Linked DNA regions of Homo sapiens: region 1 is linked to region 2. The links are contacts of gene promoters, found by promoter capture Hi-C in blood cells and fetal thymus (Javierre and others, 2016). All regions are on one chromosome and are shown on one strand. Each heading gives the region's core, a stretch centred on a gene start or on the middle of the fragment in contact. The rest is flanking DNA. Distances are from core to core; before and after follow the strand shown. Region 1 has its middle 16 kb from the start of ZNF235. Region 2 holds the start of ZNF229 (zinc finger protein 229).

Region 1 (7,210 bases), core at 2,929-5,428, 130 kb after region 2:
GTCCCCTAGCCTATTCCTAGTGAGAAGCAACAGCAGGCTACCGTGAGAAAAGGGAAGAACATGGAGAATCTTTCTTGGCCCTGGTGCCAAGGGATGGCCAAAAGCTGAGGATGGGGCAACAGGAACATTGAGAAAACTTTAGCACTCCAGTTCCCACCCTAAGCACAAGGTAACACTAGAGAAATTTGAAGCCATGGTACAACTAAGATAAATATTGCAACAACAAAACCCAATTCCAGCTTGATTCCTGACCAGATTAATTCAGCACTCCACCCTGACATCCTAGCAGAACATGTGTGCCCAGTTTTAGGCAAAAAATAATGTTGTCTTCAGTCTCTACTGTTTTGTATATGTTATCTGGCATTTTATTTTAAAAACACAAGATCAAAAGTTGAGAACAATCTTCTGCCAATAGATAGCAGACCAATCAATAAAACCACACTTATAGATAACCATATTTTGGAACTATTAGGGAATTTTACATAACTGATTGATGTGCTGAAGACTCCAGTGAAAAGGGCAGATAATATGCATGAGCAGATAGGGATTTCAGTAAAATTTAATAGTCAAATGGGAAATGCTAGGAAAAGAAAATTTATGCTACTGCTTTTACTTTTATCAGAATGCTTTTGAAGGACTTATGAGTAGGCTCAACATAGTTGAGAAAAGTGTCAGAACTTGAATATAGGTCAATAGAAATCATGCAAACTAAAACACAAAAAGAAAAAGTGTGAAGAAAACAATACAAATAGGACAACATTGTAGGATCTAATATTTGCATACTTGGAAACCCAGGGTCGGGGGAGAGAATGGGAAGAAAAGATATTTAAAGAGATAATGGCTGAGAATTTTCCAAAAATAATAAGACTTCACCCAGATTCAAGAACGTCAGAATACCAAAGCAGTATTTTTTTAAAAAAAGAACAAAACTAGAGGTATTATTGCCCAATAGCTAAAAATGGATGGACAGTGCAAAGAAAATATTAATGGCAGACAGAGGAAAGGGACACATTACATATAAGAAGCAGAGTGAGAAAAACATCAGACTTATCATCACAAACCATGCAAGCAAAAGACAATGGAGTTACATCTTTAACATTTAGAAACAACAATAAAAAAAATGATCAATCAAAAATCTAAGCCTGGTGGAAAAAATCTTTCAGAAGGTATGCAAAATAAAGGCATTTTCAGATGAACAGAAGCTGATAGAATTCACTGTTAGCAGACCTGCACTGTAAGAGATATTTAGCATACCAGAAATAGACTTGGATCTACCAAAAGACATAACTATGAAAATAGTTATTTCAATCATTTTAAGTGTAAAATAATTTTTATTTTTATTACTCCAAAATATAATTCAGTAAAGCAAAATTAGGAATGAGGTTTTATGAATTTAGAGGACATACAAAAATAAGATGTTTCGTAAGAACACTGCAAAACAGGGAAGACAGAAATTAGAAATATACTAGCAGAAATTAGAGGTATATGGTTGTACTCTATACATGAATTGGCATAATATGATTTGAAGATAGACTGTGAAAAAATACAGGAATATATTTTAAGCCCTAGAGTAACCATTTAAGAATTTTTTAAAGTACATCTCATAAGTCAGTAGTAGAAATTAAATTCTGGTTCCAAAAATAGCAATGTAGAAGCAAGCTGGCTTCACTCCTTTCAATAGAAAACTAAAGACAAATATACAGCACCAAGATTATCACCAGCAATATCCCAGAACTCAAATAGAAGGAGACAGTTCCTGAGGACACAAATAAGTGGAAAAAACTGAGCAGATGATAAGAGAAGTGGACTTTCCTATCCACAGTGCCCTTCCCCCTAATCTGCCTGGTGCCAAGACTGTGGAAAATTTTCCCGTCTCACGGTTTCTATACTGGAAAAAGTTAATCAAGGTGGACAACCAGCCTCCTCCCCATCTTGGGTTTCCTGGCAGGAGACTTGTCCCTGACTCAACCCACAGAAAGCATCAGGAGTAACTGAAGAGAGAAATATCCCTGAGGACAGCCAGAGACAAAGGAGGGAGGTGGGAATACTGTCCCCGTCATGGAAACTCTACTCTGCAACTCAGCCAAAGGAGACAACAATCAGAGTGGCTGTTCAGCATCACTATACTGTAGGTCCCCAATCATGAACCACTAGCCAGCTTTCTTACAACTAGGATATCCCCTATGGGACCTACCCCTTTTGGGATGGGTGGCACTATGATTATTTACTAGAACTGAGGCAAACCTGGAGTTAATAGGCTATCTAGTACCAAAAAGGAGTCAGTAACCTAACGGGAAAGAAGAAAATCAACAGGTAAAATATAAAGAATCTCTAGGGAGCCATATCCAATGAAAAACAAAACCAGCCAGACAGAGAATAGTGGAATGTATAATCATTCGATGCAAAGACAGACACACATCCATAAGCAACAACAGCAAACGGGGAGCCATGGCATCCCACAAATGGACAAAGCAAGGAACCAGTGACTGATCCTAACAGGAAGACGATATGTGAACTCTCTGACCAAGACTTCATAAGAGCTGTTTTAAGGAAACTCAGTGATCTCCAAGATAACACAGAAAAGCAATTCAGAAATGTATCAGAGAACCTGAACAGAGAATAAAATAATTTTTTAAAATCAAACAGAAATCTTGGAACTGAGAAATATGTTTGCTGCACTGAAATATCCATTAGAGGCTCTCAACAGCAGAATGTATCAAGCAGAAGAAAGAATCAGTGAGCTCCAAGACAGGCTATTTGTGAATACACAGTCAGAAGAGAACAGAGAAAGAAAAAGAGCAAATATTGACTGAAAGAGATAGAAAATATCTCAAATGACCAAAACTAAGAATTACTGCTGTTCAGGAGGGAGTTGAGCAAGAGCAAGGAGTAGAAAGTATATTCAACAAAATAACAGAAAACTTTCCAAAATTTAAGAAAGAGATGAATATCCAGGTACAGGGAAATCATAGAACAGCAAACAGATTTGACCCAACTAAGACTACCCCAAAGCATATAATAAACTCTCATAGGTCAAGGAGAAAGAATTATAAAAGCAGCAAAAAAAAAAAAAAAAAAAAAAAAAAACAAGCAAATGACATATAAAGGAGCTCCAATTCATCTGGCAAAAGACTTCTTAACAGAAGCCATATAGGCCAGGAGGAAGTGCAGAGACATTTTCAAAGTGCTGAAATTAAAAAAAAAAAAAAACTATCATCCAAGAATACTGTATCTAGCAAAGTTATCCTTCAAATATGAAGGAGAGATAAAGTCTTTCCAAGATAAACAAAAGATGAGAGAATTTACCACAACAGACTTCTAAGAAAGGTTCAAGGGAGTTTCCAATGTGAAAGAAAAAGCTACTAATGTGCAAAATGAAAGCTTCTGAAACTGTAAAACCCAGTGGTAAAGTTAAGTACACAGACAAACCAAGAATAGTATTGTAATTGTGATGTGCAATCCACTCATAACTAGTATGTAGCCCAAAAGAAATCTATCAAAAAGAATAATAGCAAGAGCAATTTGTTAAGAAATAGGTAATATAAAAATATGTACATTGAGACAACCAAAAATCAAAAGGTGGGACGGATGGGAGTTAAGTGTAGAAGTGTTTCTTCTTTTCATTTTTCTTTGTTTCTATTACTTGTAATCTAAGATAAGTTGTCATCTCTTTAAAATAACCTGTTATATCTATAAAATGTATTTTGTAAGCTTTATGGTAAACACAATACAAAAACCTATAATAGATTCACTAAAAGTAAAAAGCAACAAATTAAAACATACTGTTAACCACAAAGGAAGACAGAAAAATGAAGACTCTTAAATATTTAAGCAAAAAAAGAAGACAGTAAGAAAGGAAGAAAGAAAGGGAGGAGTTACAAAACAACCAGAAAACAAGCAACAAATGGCAGTAGTAAGTCCTTACTAATCAATAATAACACTGAATGTAAATTGACTCATCCTCTGATTAAAAGACATAAAGTGGCTGAATGGATAGAGAAACAAGACCCAACTATATGCTGCCTGCAAGAAACCCACTTCACCTGTAAAGACACACATAGTCTAAAAGTGAAGGGGTGGAAAAAGACATAGCTTGCAACAGGCAACGAAAAAAGAGCAGGAGTAGCTATACTTGTATAAGATACAATATAGACTACAAATCAAAGACTGTAAAAAAGACAAATAAGGTCACTATAAAATGATTAATGGGTCAATTCAGCAAGATGATATAACCATTATAAATATCTATGCATTCAACACCAGAACTCCGAAGTTTATAAAGCAAACATTAATAGATCGAAAATAAGAGATATATGGCAAAATAATAATAGTAGGAGACTTTGACATCCCACTCTCAGCAATGGACAGATCATCCAGACAGAAAATCAACAAAGAAACATTGAAGTTAGGTCACACACTAGACCTAATAGACATAACTGACATTTACAGATCATTTCACCCAATTGCTGCAGAATAGATGTTCTTTTCATCAGTACATGGAACATTGTCCAGAATAGACTATATCTTAGGCCACAAAACAAATCTCAACAAATTAAAAAAAAAAGAGAGATTATATTCAGTATCTTTTCTGACCACAGTATAATTAAACTAGAAATCAATAACAAAAAGGACATTGGAAGCTTCACAAACAACATGGAAATTAAACAGCATGCTCCTGAATGACCAGTGAGGCAATGAAGAAATTAAGAAGGAAATTTAAACATTTTTTGAAACAAAGAAAATAGAAATACAACATGGCAAAATCTATGGGATACAGCCAAAGCAAAACTTAGAGGTTTATAGCAACAAACATATATCAAAAAGGTAAAAAGATTTCAAATAACAACCTAATGATGCACCTCAAGGAACTAAAAAAGTAAGAACAAACCAAATCCAAAATTAGTAGAAGAAAATAAATAAAGATCAGAGCAGAAATAAATAAAATTGATAATGAAAGAAGAATACAGAAGATAAATGAAAGAAAAGTTGGGATTTTAAAAAGATAAACAGAAATCATCAAACCTTTGGCTAAACTAACCAAGAAAGAAAGAAGATCCAAGTAAATAACATCAGAAATGAAAAAGGAGACTTAACAACTGAGACCACAAAAATAAGAATCATTAGAAATAAGAATCATTAGAGACTGTGATGAACAATGATACACTTTGGAAAACCTAGAAGTAATGAATAAATTCCTGGACACATGCAATCGACCACAGTTGAACTATGAAGAAATAGAAAACCTCGATAAACCAGTAACAAATAATGAAATTGAAGCCATAATAAAAAGTCGCCTATCAAGGAAAAACTCATGACCTAATGGTTTCACTGCTAAATTCTACCAAACATTTAGAGAACTAATACCAATTCTACTCAAACTCTTCACAAAAATTGAAGAGAAGGGAATAATTCCAAATTTATTCTATGGGGCCAACAGTATCCTGATACCAAAACCAGAAAAGGACACAATGGAAAAAAAAACTGCAGGACATTATCACTGGTGAACATAGATGCAAAAATTTTCAACAAAATACTAGCAAACTGAATTCAGCAACATATTAAAAAGATCATTCACCAACATATTAAAAAGATCATTCACCATGATCAAATGGGATTCATCCCAAGGATGCAAGGATGATCCAGTATATGCAAATTGATAAGTGTGATACGTCACACTAACAGAACCAAGAAGAAAAACCATCTGATTATTTTGATAGATGCTAAAAATAAACATTCAATATAATTTAACATCCCTTTATGATAAAAATCCTCATCAAACTGGGTGTAGAAGGAACATACCTCAGAATAATAAAAGTTATATATGACAAGCCCACAGCTAACATTGTGCTGACAGGGAAGAATTGAAGGCCTTTCCTCTAAGATCTTGAAAAAGACAAGGATGCCTAATCTCACCACCTTTATTCAATATAGATAGTACTGGAAATCCTGCATAGAACAATTAGGTGGGAGGAACACTGAGAAAACTTTAGCACTCCAGTTCCCAGAGAAATTAAAGGGCATCCAAATTGGAAAGGAAGAAGTCAAATTAGTCTTGTTGACAGATGACATGTTATTAAAAATGGAAAATACTAAAGACTATCAAAAACCATTAGAACTGATAAGAAAATTGAGTAATGTTGCAGGATACAAAATAAACATAAAAAATCAGTATTATTTATATATGCCAACAGTGAACAATCTGAAATCAAGAAAGCAATCCCATTTACAATAGCTACAAAGAATATACAATACCTAAGAGTGAGTTTAACCAAAGTAGTGAAAGAACTATCCAAGGAAAACTCTAAAACACTGATGAAAGAAATTGAAAAGGACACAAAAAATAGATAGCCCATGCTCATGGATTGGAATAATTAATATTGTCAAAATGACAATATTACTCAATGCAATTTACAGATTCAATGAAATTCCTATGAAAATACTAATGACAGGCCAGGCACAGTGGCTCATGCCTGTAATCCCAGCACTTTGGGAGGCCAAGGCAGACCAATCACGAGGTCAGGAGATTGAGACCATCCTGGCTAACATGGTGAAACCCTGTCTCTACTAAAAAATGCAAAAAATTAGCCGGGCATGGTGGCGGGCACCTGTAGTCCCAGCTACTTGGGAGGCTGAGGCAGGAGAATAGCGTGAACCTGGGAGGCAGAGCTTGCAGTGAGCCAAGATTGCGCCACTGCACTGTAGCCTGGGCGACAGAGCAAGACTCCTTCTCAAGAAAAATAATAGTGATAAATTTAATTTAATTTAATTTAATTTAATTTAAAAAAAGAAAATACTAATGACATTCTTCACTGAAATAGACAAAAACAATTCTAACATTTATATGGAACCACAGAAGATGCCATATAGCCAAAGGCAACTCTGAGCAAAAGTAAGAAAGCTGGAGGCAGCACACTATCTGACTTCAAAATATACTACAAAACAACAGCAACTGAAACAGCATAGTACTGGCATAAAAACAGACACATAGACCAATGGAAAAGAATAGAGAGCTCAAGTATAAATCCATGCATTTATAGTTAACTCATCTTTGACAAAGGCACCAAGAACATACAATGGAAGAAAGGTCAGTCTCTTCAATTAATAGTGCAGGGAAAACTGAATATATGCAAAAGAATGAAGCTAGACCCTTATCTCACCTTCACAAAAATCAGATCAAAATTGATTAAAGACTTAAATATAAGACCTAAAA
Region 2 (7,773 bases), core at 163-2,662:
AAAGAGGGGTGGGTTTGGAACCAAATATCTGAAGGGCTTGGATGCTTTGGAGTCAATTGGCAATTTTTTAGAATTTATCAAAACAATTCGATAATCTGTTTATAAGAGAGAGTTCTAGAACTTCTAGGATGAAATTTTTGAAACACAACAAGGAGGGAGAGATAAGGAAATGAGTTATCACTGTAACTGAAACCTTTCATCATGGCACAGAAAAAGCAATCTCTATCTTCAGAACACACTTGTATCCCAGAAAATATTTCATTATATATATAGTAATGTAGTAAGTGATTAGGATGCCGTTTAAATCAGAAAGGAAAGAATTAATATTTATGTAAATTTTGTTAAGAAAAGTAGACAATCCTTTGGTGAAACAGGAAACTCCATCTTCCTTTCATATCATACACTTAAATGAATCACGCGGTGATTCAAAAGAAAAATGAAAGAGCCTGAAATGAATATAGATATGCACTTATTGGGAATCAGGCTAAGGAATGTCTTTTTGGTCATACTGGAGAAAAAAAAGAAGCCACAAATGAAAAGACTGATATACCTTGTCAGATGAAGTTTTTTGTTTTTTTTTTTTTCTAAACTACTTTATAAATGTTGAAACTGGGGGAGCAATTCATCACTTAGAAGCGATATCATTCATACACAGAGAGTGTATGACAATAAAAGATGACAATGAAATGCAATCGGTAATAAGCATATTTACTCTGTCAAATTGGGAAAATAAGACAGGATATTTAGTCCATCAAATTGGGAAAATATTAAAGAAAGTGATTGTGTGTAGTTTTGATATCATAAAATTAGAAGTGTAAGTTCAATGCAGGACAAAGGGGTAACTTCCCTAAAAACTAAAGAATGCTAGGCAAGTATTGCAAATAATTTGTGTTTTTTTATTATCTCTATGTATCTCTACGTCTTTTGTGACATACAGAACTATCCACGATATATGACCTGTGGCAAGAAATGATTACAAAATATTATGATGCCATTTGGGAAATGGGATTCTTAAGAATTCATATTTACTCACATAAACCAGGGATTAAGTAAGAATTTTTTTTAAACCATTCTTTACATGTAATATGAACTACTTTTGAAATAAATATTTAGTTGGCTTTTACACCAGAAAATCAATAATGCTTTATATCCCTGGTGATGGGATGATGGGCTTGTTTGAGAATATAGTCAGGTTTGCTACAACGCGAATATGTTAGTACTGAGTAAAGACATTCTTTTCAACTCAGAAACACCTTGCATGCCGCCTCCCGCCGCCTCGCAGTGGGCGTGACTCGAGGTGGACGCGCATTTACGACACCATCGCCCCTAGGATCGGACTGCGCTGCGGAGGGTTCTGGGAAAGGTAGTCCCACACCTCGAGTCGACTACTTCCGTTTCCGGTGGGCGCGTCACCTTGATTGCTTCTTAGGCAGTGGTGAGGCGTCTTAGAGACGTGCATCTCCATGCGGTTGTACTGTCAGGCCATGGGAATTAGGATCGGCTCTATAGGACCAGTGTGAAGGGACAACGTGCGGCGGAGGGTCGAAGCCCACGGATTTCCATGAGCTCGGCCTGGTGAGGCAGGGGTGTAAGGAGGCGCACGTATCGAACATTCTGAGCGCCTGTGCGGGGTGGGCCCGGGTCGGCAGCCCTCGCAGTCCAGGCTTGGAAAAGCAGTTTGAGGCCAGCTCTGGCTTTGAGATGAGATCTGCAGTGCGGGAGACTCCACTGTGTCAGTTGCGGATCGATGACATGAATTTTCTCAGGGTAGCCGCCCACCCACTTGTGGAGTAATTTCAGAGTTTTCTGCGAAGTCATTTCTGTAAACAGGAAGTTGATTCCCTGTGTTCTAATTTTATCCTTTGAAATGTATTAAGCGCTGTGCAAGTCCTAGGAGTTGGTTTGCTGTATCGTTGCTGGCTCTGCTTTTTGTAGCCGCCTAAGCACACACAGGCAGAATTTCACTTGTAAGTGTCCCACAGCATGTGACAGTCAGCTCTGGATTAAAATCTTGAGATTTTGTCTTGATTCTCCTTGTCTCCTGAAAGGGGCAGTGAAAGTAGGCTTGTAGACGGTTTCTTTGGGCATCAGGAATGGCGTGTCCCTTGTACTCTGAGTCCTGTAGGAAGAGAGGTTCTTTTCCTCGGCTCCTGAAGCAAGTAGCGAGGGTAGATTACAGGAAGGGGTAGATTACATCCAGCTGGCACTGAGAGATTTCCCCCTGTGGCGTGGTGGGAATTGGGATTAAATCATGTTATCCTGCTGTTCATTTTTCTTTCACAGGCTTCCTTCTTGGAATTGTTCGTTTCTCGGAGATAATTGTATAAAAGAAGGAGAAATAACCCCACATCTCTTGACACTAGAGCTCCAGGTGAGTGAACTTTGGTTCTCTTTTGTGGCAATGCCAGGTCTCTTGGTGACCTCATTCTTCATCCCATTGATATCACAAATGTTCATTCAGACCCCTTAGCCACACCTGCCTTCCCCTAGAAATGGGGGAGGTTTGAGGAATTTCCCAGTGTCTTTATTTAGTGTATTCTCTTCTTGGCTCCTAGTAGTGTGTCACTGGGTCAGTAAAGGCTTACACTGTTTCAGCGCCATGCTGAAGAAACGCAGGGTAGAAATAATTAGAGTAACTGTGATGGTGTATATTAACTGAGTGCTTACTATATGCCAGGTATTATTTATCCATGGTGTCTAGGACAGTGCCAGGCTTGCCAATAAATATTTGAATAAATGAATGTATTTCTATTGAATTTTCTGAGCAAGTTTGTATGTTAGCTATTATCCCCATGTCACAGATGAGTTGCTAAGGTTTAAAAAGTTAAAAAAACTTAACAGGTAAGACCTGGCCAGGAGACCTTCTAAACAGAAACCAGGTCTTTGCGCTTATGCTTCCTTCTGGACTTGTCTCATCCCAGCTTTTTTCACAGCTGATTTATTTGTCAGGCAGCTCTTAGAGACTGTCCCTGACCACCTGATTTAATGTTGCTCTTTCCACAGCTGCCACATATGTTCACCTGATAGCACCTACATTCTTGTTGGAAAACAGGAATCTATCATGTTTGCTTTATTTTCTTCATAGCCCTTTTTGCAACCAAAGGTCACCTAATTTGTAGAGAGATTAACCCACCCGAAAGTAAGCACCATGAGAACAATTACCTTTTCCATCTTAATTTACTGCTGTATGTCTAGTGTTTATTCTCCTAAGATGTTGTTAGACACTGAATGTACATTTACTAAATGCATGAGTTCCTGTATTCCTAGGTTAATGCTGGGTTGGGTCAATGGTAATAGTATATTGATGATTTTCTGTGTACCACGTACTGGGCTTTGAAGTTTATTCACATAGGCATGTGTGTGTGAAAGAGAGAAAAACTTAAATTATTTTAGTTTTGCAAGTAAGGATTATCTTTATTTGACAGAAGTACAGACTCATTCAAAAGGTTAAGTCTCTCCTGTGGTGTTAATATAACTACAAAGTGGCTGAACCAGAATTCGAACCTAAACCTTTTGATAACTCCAGTTTTGAGAAACTAGAGCTGCAATTTTCAAAACCCTGCTTTCCCTTTTGCTATCTTATTATTTTATCATAACTTCATAATTTACCTGTTTTCCTCAGACTTCAACCTCAGAATCATATTTATTTCTCCTCCTCTTCATCCCTACATGGAATTATTCTTTTAGTTTTGTTATTTCTACCTCTGCAATTATCTCTTATTCCCATTACTTCTTTGTCCCACTGCCTTTGTACCAACTCTTTCTGTCACCCTCTTTCTCCCCCAATGTGAGCTCCATGCAGTCCAGAAATGTATCCTAAGCACATGGAACACAGTAGATATTCATTATGGCTGCTGATTTCCACCTAGAATGTTAGCAGCTGCATGAGCACAGAGTCGTTGTCTGCCCTGTTCACTCTTGGGTCCCAACACAGCCAGCATAGTCCTTAGCACCCAAATTACTAAGTCCATGAACTGGAGAAGAAAATCACTTCTGCTGTGAAGATGACATCAAGAGGACCCAAGGATCCATATCAGCAAGCTGAGTTCAGGTTACTCCCGTTCTCCCATTTAAATATTTATTGAGCACCTGCTGTGTGCCAGGTGCCAACTGAAATACTGGCCCTCATAGAGTTCACATTCTTGTGGGTGGAGAAAGATGGTCAACAAGAAAAATAGACTGTAGGTAGGGTGTCAGTTTCATGGAGAAAAATGAAGCAGAGGAGGGTGTAGGAAGTGCTGGTTTGCCAATTTGAGAAGGATAATGAGGGATGAATTTCACTGAGAAAATGGTGCTTGAATAGGGACCCAAAGCAGGTGAGGGGCCTGCAGGCATCTGATGAAAAAGGCAAAGAGAACAACACGAAGGCCCGGTGATGAGGGCATGTGAAGAACAGCAAGGAAGCCAGAGCTGAGCAGAATGAGAAAGAGGGAGGATAAGTGGGAAACTGAATATTGGGAAGGAAGATAGTGTAAGGTCTTTGGGCCATTGAAAGGACCTTGGTGCAAGGTTTTGAGTAAAATGATGGTTTTGGCCAGAGAAGAATATGAGTTTATATTTTTAAAAGATCACTCCAGCTGCTGTGTAGGAAGTAGACTGAAACGAACAGGAGTAGGAATGCAGAGGCCATTTAGGGGGCTGTCACGTTAATGCAGGTGAGACATGATGGTGTGGACGGTGGCAGCAAGAATAATCTGATTCTGGTTCTGATTTGTAGGTATTTGCTGATGGATTGGATGTAGAGTACGAGGAAGAAATCAAGGATGACTAGAATATTTCCTCTTCATTTCAAAGGAGAGAAGTACCTCTAGGGGCAAATCTGGACTTTTCTTTTGAACATGTTTTTTGAGTTGCTTTTTAGACATAAGAGTGGAGATGGCAGGTTGCCATGGAGTCATCAGTGTGTAGATTGTGTTGAAGGCCTGAGGCTGGATATGTTCACCAAGGGAGTGAAAGAAGATAGAGAACTTTATGTGCTGACTCTTGAGGCTTCCTGACCTGAAGAGTTCAGGGATAGGAGGAGGAAGCACAAGGAAAATTTTTACCCACCGGAAGTCTCTGGAAACCCTGAAAATCAGCCAGTCAGAGGAAGTGAGGGTAACTTAGCAAGTTTGCTTCAGGTGTGGCCCCTGGACTCACTTTGTCAGCATCCCCTGGAAACGTTTAAAACACAGACTCCTGGGCTCTACTGCAGAGATACAGAATTAGAATCTTTGGAGCTGGACTCTAGCAGTCTGTTTTCATCATTGCTCATGGTGATTTTTAAACATACTGAAGTTTGCAAAGCGCAGTCCTAGAGGATCCTGAAGTTTGAGTTTAAGTGGCATTGCGGTGGAGGCCTTGTTTCAGATCTGGCCTCTACTCTTCCCTTTGTCCTTTGTGTAGGAGGGTAGCGTGTTGCCTGGTTGTCCACACCTGGGTCAAAGGGCAATCCCCAGTTCAGGGCAGTGCATGAAGGGAGGGAGAGAGAAAGATGCTTGTCACTGTGGGCCATGCAGAGGGCTGGTACAGATGGTTAGAGGAAAGAAGGAGATTTGAGTTCCTGAAGCAGTAAAATCCAGTGAGTGTCCTAGAGTAGACAGCCCAAGTATGTGTATCTGTTTGTCTGAACTTGACCTTGAGACTTGAATTTCAAGAGGAAAGAGGCCAGGCAAGGTGGGGAAGGGTGGAAACTCATGTCCACTGTCTTTGCACTACCTCCCGAGTAGCTCTGAGCAGATTGTAAGAGTTTTGTTCAATCTGTGTGCATCACCTCCTGCTGATAGAATTGCTTAGGACCCTTAAGTGCTTCCCGTGTGCCAGAGCCATGAAAGGTAAATAAAGAAAAAGAAGACTCAATTATTTTGATGACTTAGAGATCTGACCATGGAGGCCGTGTGAAAGGTGGTAACCAGCAATTTATACCATGTGTTGCTGGATCCCAGAGTAATTAATTCAGTCTGGGGGGTGGGGCGGGGCAGAAGAGGCTTAATTTTGAAAAGGAATTCTTGCCCTGGGCTCCATGAGCATAACTCAGGAGTTCCATGAATTTGAATGGGAAAAAAATTATACTAGTCTAAGTCACAAGTAGCATTTCATTGTGAACATAGGTGCTAAGCCACAATATTATTAGCAGTACTTGTGACTTTGTCATCCATATACATCATAGATATTTTTATGTCATATTCTGGTTTGTGCAAATATTTCAGAGTATTGTTTATGCTCATTACTCTTTTGAAATTGTAGTTAAATTTATTGTTTATATTGAATGTATTAATAAAGTGGCACTATACTTGCACAGTGAGCCATGCAGAGTTTTAATAGTTTTGAAGGTTGTATTTCCATATAATTCTTTGCATTTCATTTTATGCATTTAAAACTTTATTCTCAGTAGGGATCTTTAGGTATCATCAGATTAGTGAAGGGGGGCCATGGCACAAAAAAAGTTAAAAACGCTGACTAAAGATGGCTCTAATCTATATCCTGATTTCTATAATCCCTAAGTATGGGGATTTATTGTATTTTATTTTTTGCAAGTCAAACAGTATTGCGTTAATAAAGCTTTTCCTCTCCAGGTGTTTCTTCACAGGTCACAGGTCCCATATATTTGTGGGGTCTCTCTGCCCTTCTGAGGGGCCCTGTGCCTTACTGAGAATTTAGCTGCAGGACCCTCCTCACAGACTCTTCTGTGACTGTCCTTACCCATCTGCAACACTCTTGGCTTTGTGGACTATGAGCCCCTTCAGAGTAGGGGACTAAACCTAACAAGTACTCAGTAAATGTCCTGTAAACTACTGAATGAATAGTATCCAGGGGATGTGAACCACAGCCTTGGGGCCCAGAAGAAAGGACTAAGTAAAGTTCCCTCCCGAACCTACAGGTCCCCTGACCATGGGAAGCAGTCGCGCTCTGGACAGTAAAGGTGGAGACAGGAACTTGTCAGAGCTTGGAGAGTTTCCGGAATGAAAAAGGCCTGGATCTTCTGCGTCTCCAGCTTAGGAAAACCAGAGAATAAATACAGTTGCTGCTGCTCGCAGAGAACCTAGCAGAAGAGACCATGGAGACTTTGACCTCAAGGCATGAGAAAAGAGGTGACAGCTAATAGAGGGGGTGGGTGGGGGGAGAATCCAAACTGAGTGTGGAGGAGAAAAAGTTGGATGTTGAGGAATTTCCTCAAGTGAGAAGAAACCAGTCTGTAAAGCTGGGCACCTTCCTACCAGGTAGATGATCTAGAGCTTCAGGCAGCACCAACTCCTCCTCATGGCCTCTTTCTCCTCCTACAGCTCTTCATTCTCAAGCCTCAGCCATTTCCCAAGATAGGGAGGAGAAGATCATGTCTCAGGTGGGTTGTTTTCTTTTCTCTCCCGAAATACCACCTTAGGCATCAGAGAGAAAACATACGTCCCTTCTCGGTAAAAGGAAAAAGAGCGAAAAATGTATTGGGTGAATACATTTCTCGTTGCATTTATCCACAAAATAGTGATGTGAGACAGATAGTATGATTCTGTTTTAGAGATGAAGAAATGAATGGGGGATCCAGGATTTGAACTCAGGTAGGTCAATTGGATTCGATAATCTACCTTTCCGCTATGCCTTCCTGCCACCGCAATAGCTTCACGCAGAGGCCCAAGCCTAGATTAGCAGAGAGATGACTCTCCAAATACTGAATCATCGCTGCCTGGGTTGTTCTCCTCTGTGGAACGTTATTCATTTATAGATGTAATGTTCTCCATGTAGTAGACCCTACCAAAAGTATACCATGCACAAAGTTAAAAAAAGAAAAACATATTAGAA

Evidence for each region. Contacts are between HindIII fragments. The CHiCAGO score rates a contact against its expected background, and 5 or more counts as called.
Region 1: a contact is called between a fragment that was not itself captured here and the fragment with the promoter of ZNF229 in region 2, in 2 of 17 cell types (erythroblasts and megakaryocytes). The highest score is 5.3, in erythroblasts.

What each region holds. Positions count from the first base shown.
Region 1 is chr19:44,317,779-44,324,988 of GRCh38, reverse strand. No RefSeq gene overlaps it. Among named protein-coding and RNA genes, the nearest start is that of ZNF235, 16 kb to the right of the region's middle. The HindIII fragment of the contact is 929 bases long and covers 3,714-4,642 here.
Region 2 is chr19:44,442,111-44,449,883 of GRCh38, reverse strand. ZNF229 (zinc finger protein 229) reads left to right here and starts at 1,412. Exons shown (of 6, transcript NM_014518.4): 1 at 1,412-1,575; 2 at 2,284-2,371; 3 at 6,860-7,070; 4 at 7,263-7,321. The coding sequence starts at 7,037. The HindIII fragment of the contact is 11,359 bases long and covers 1-6,542 here.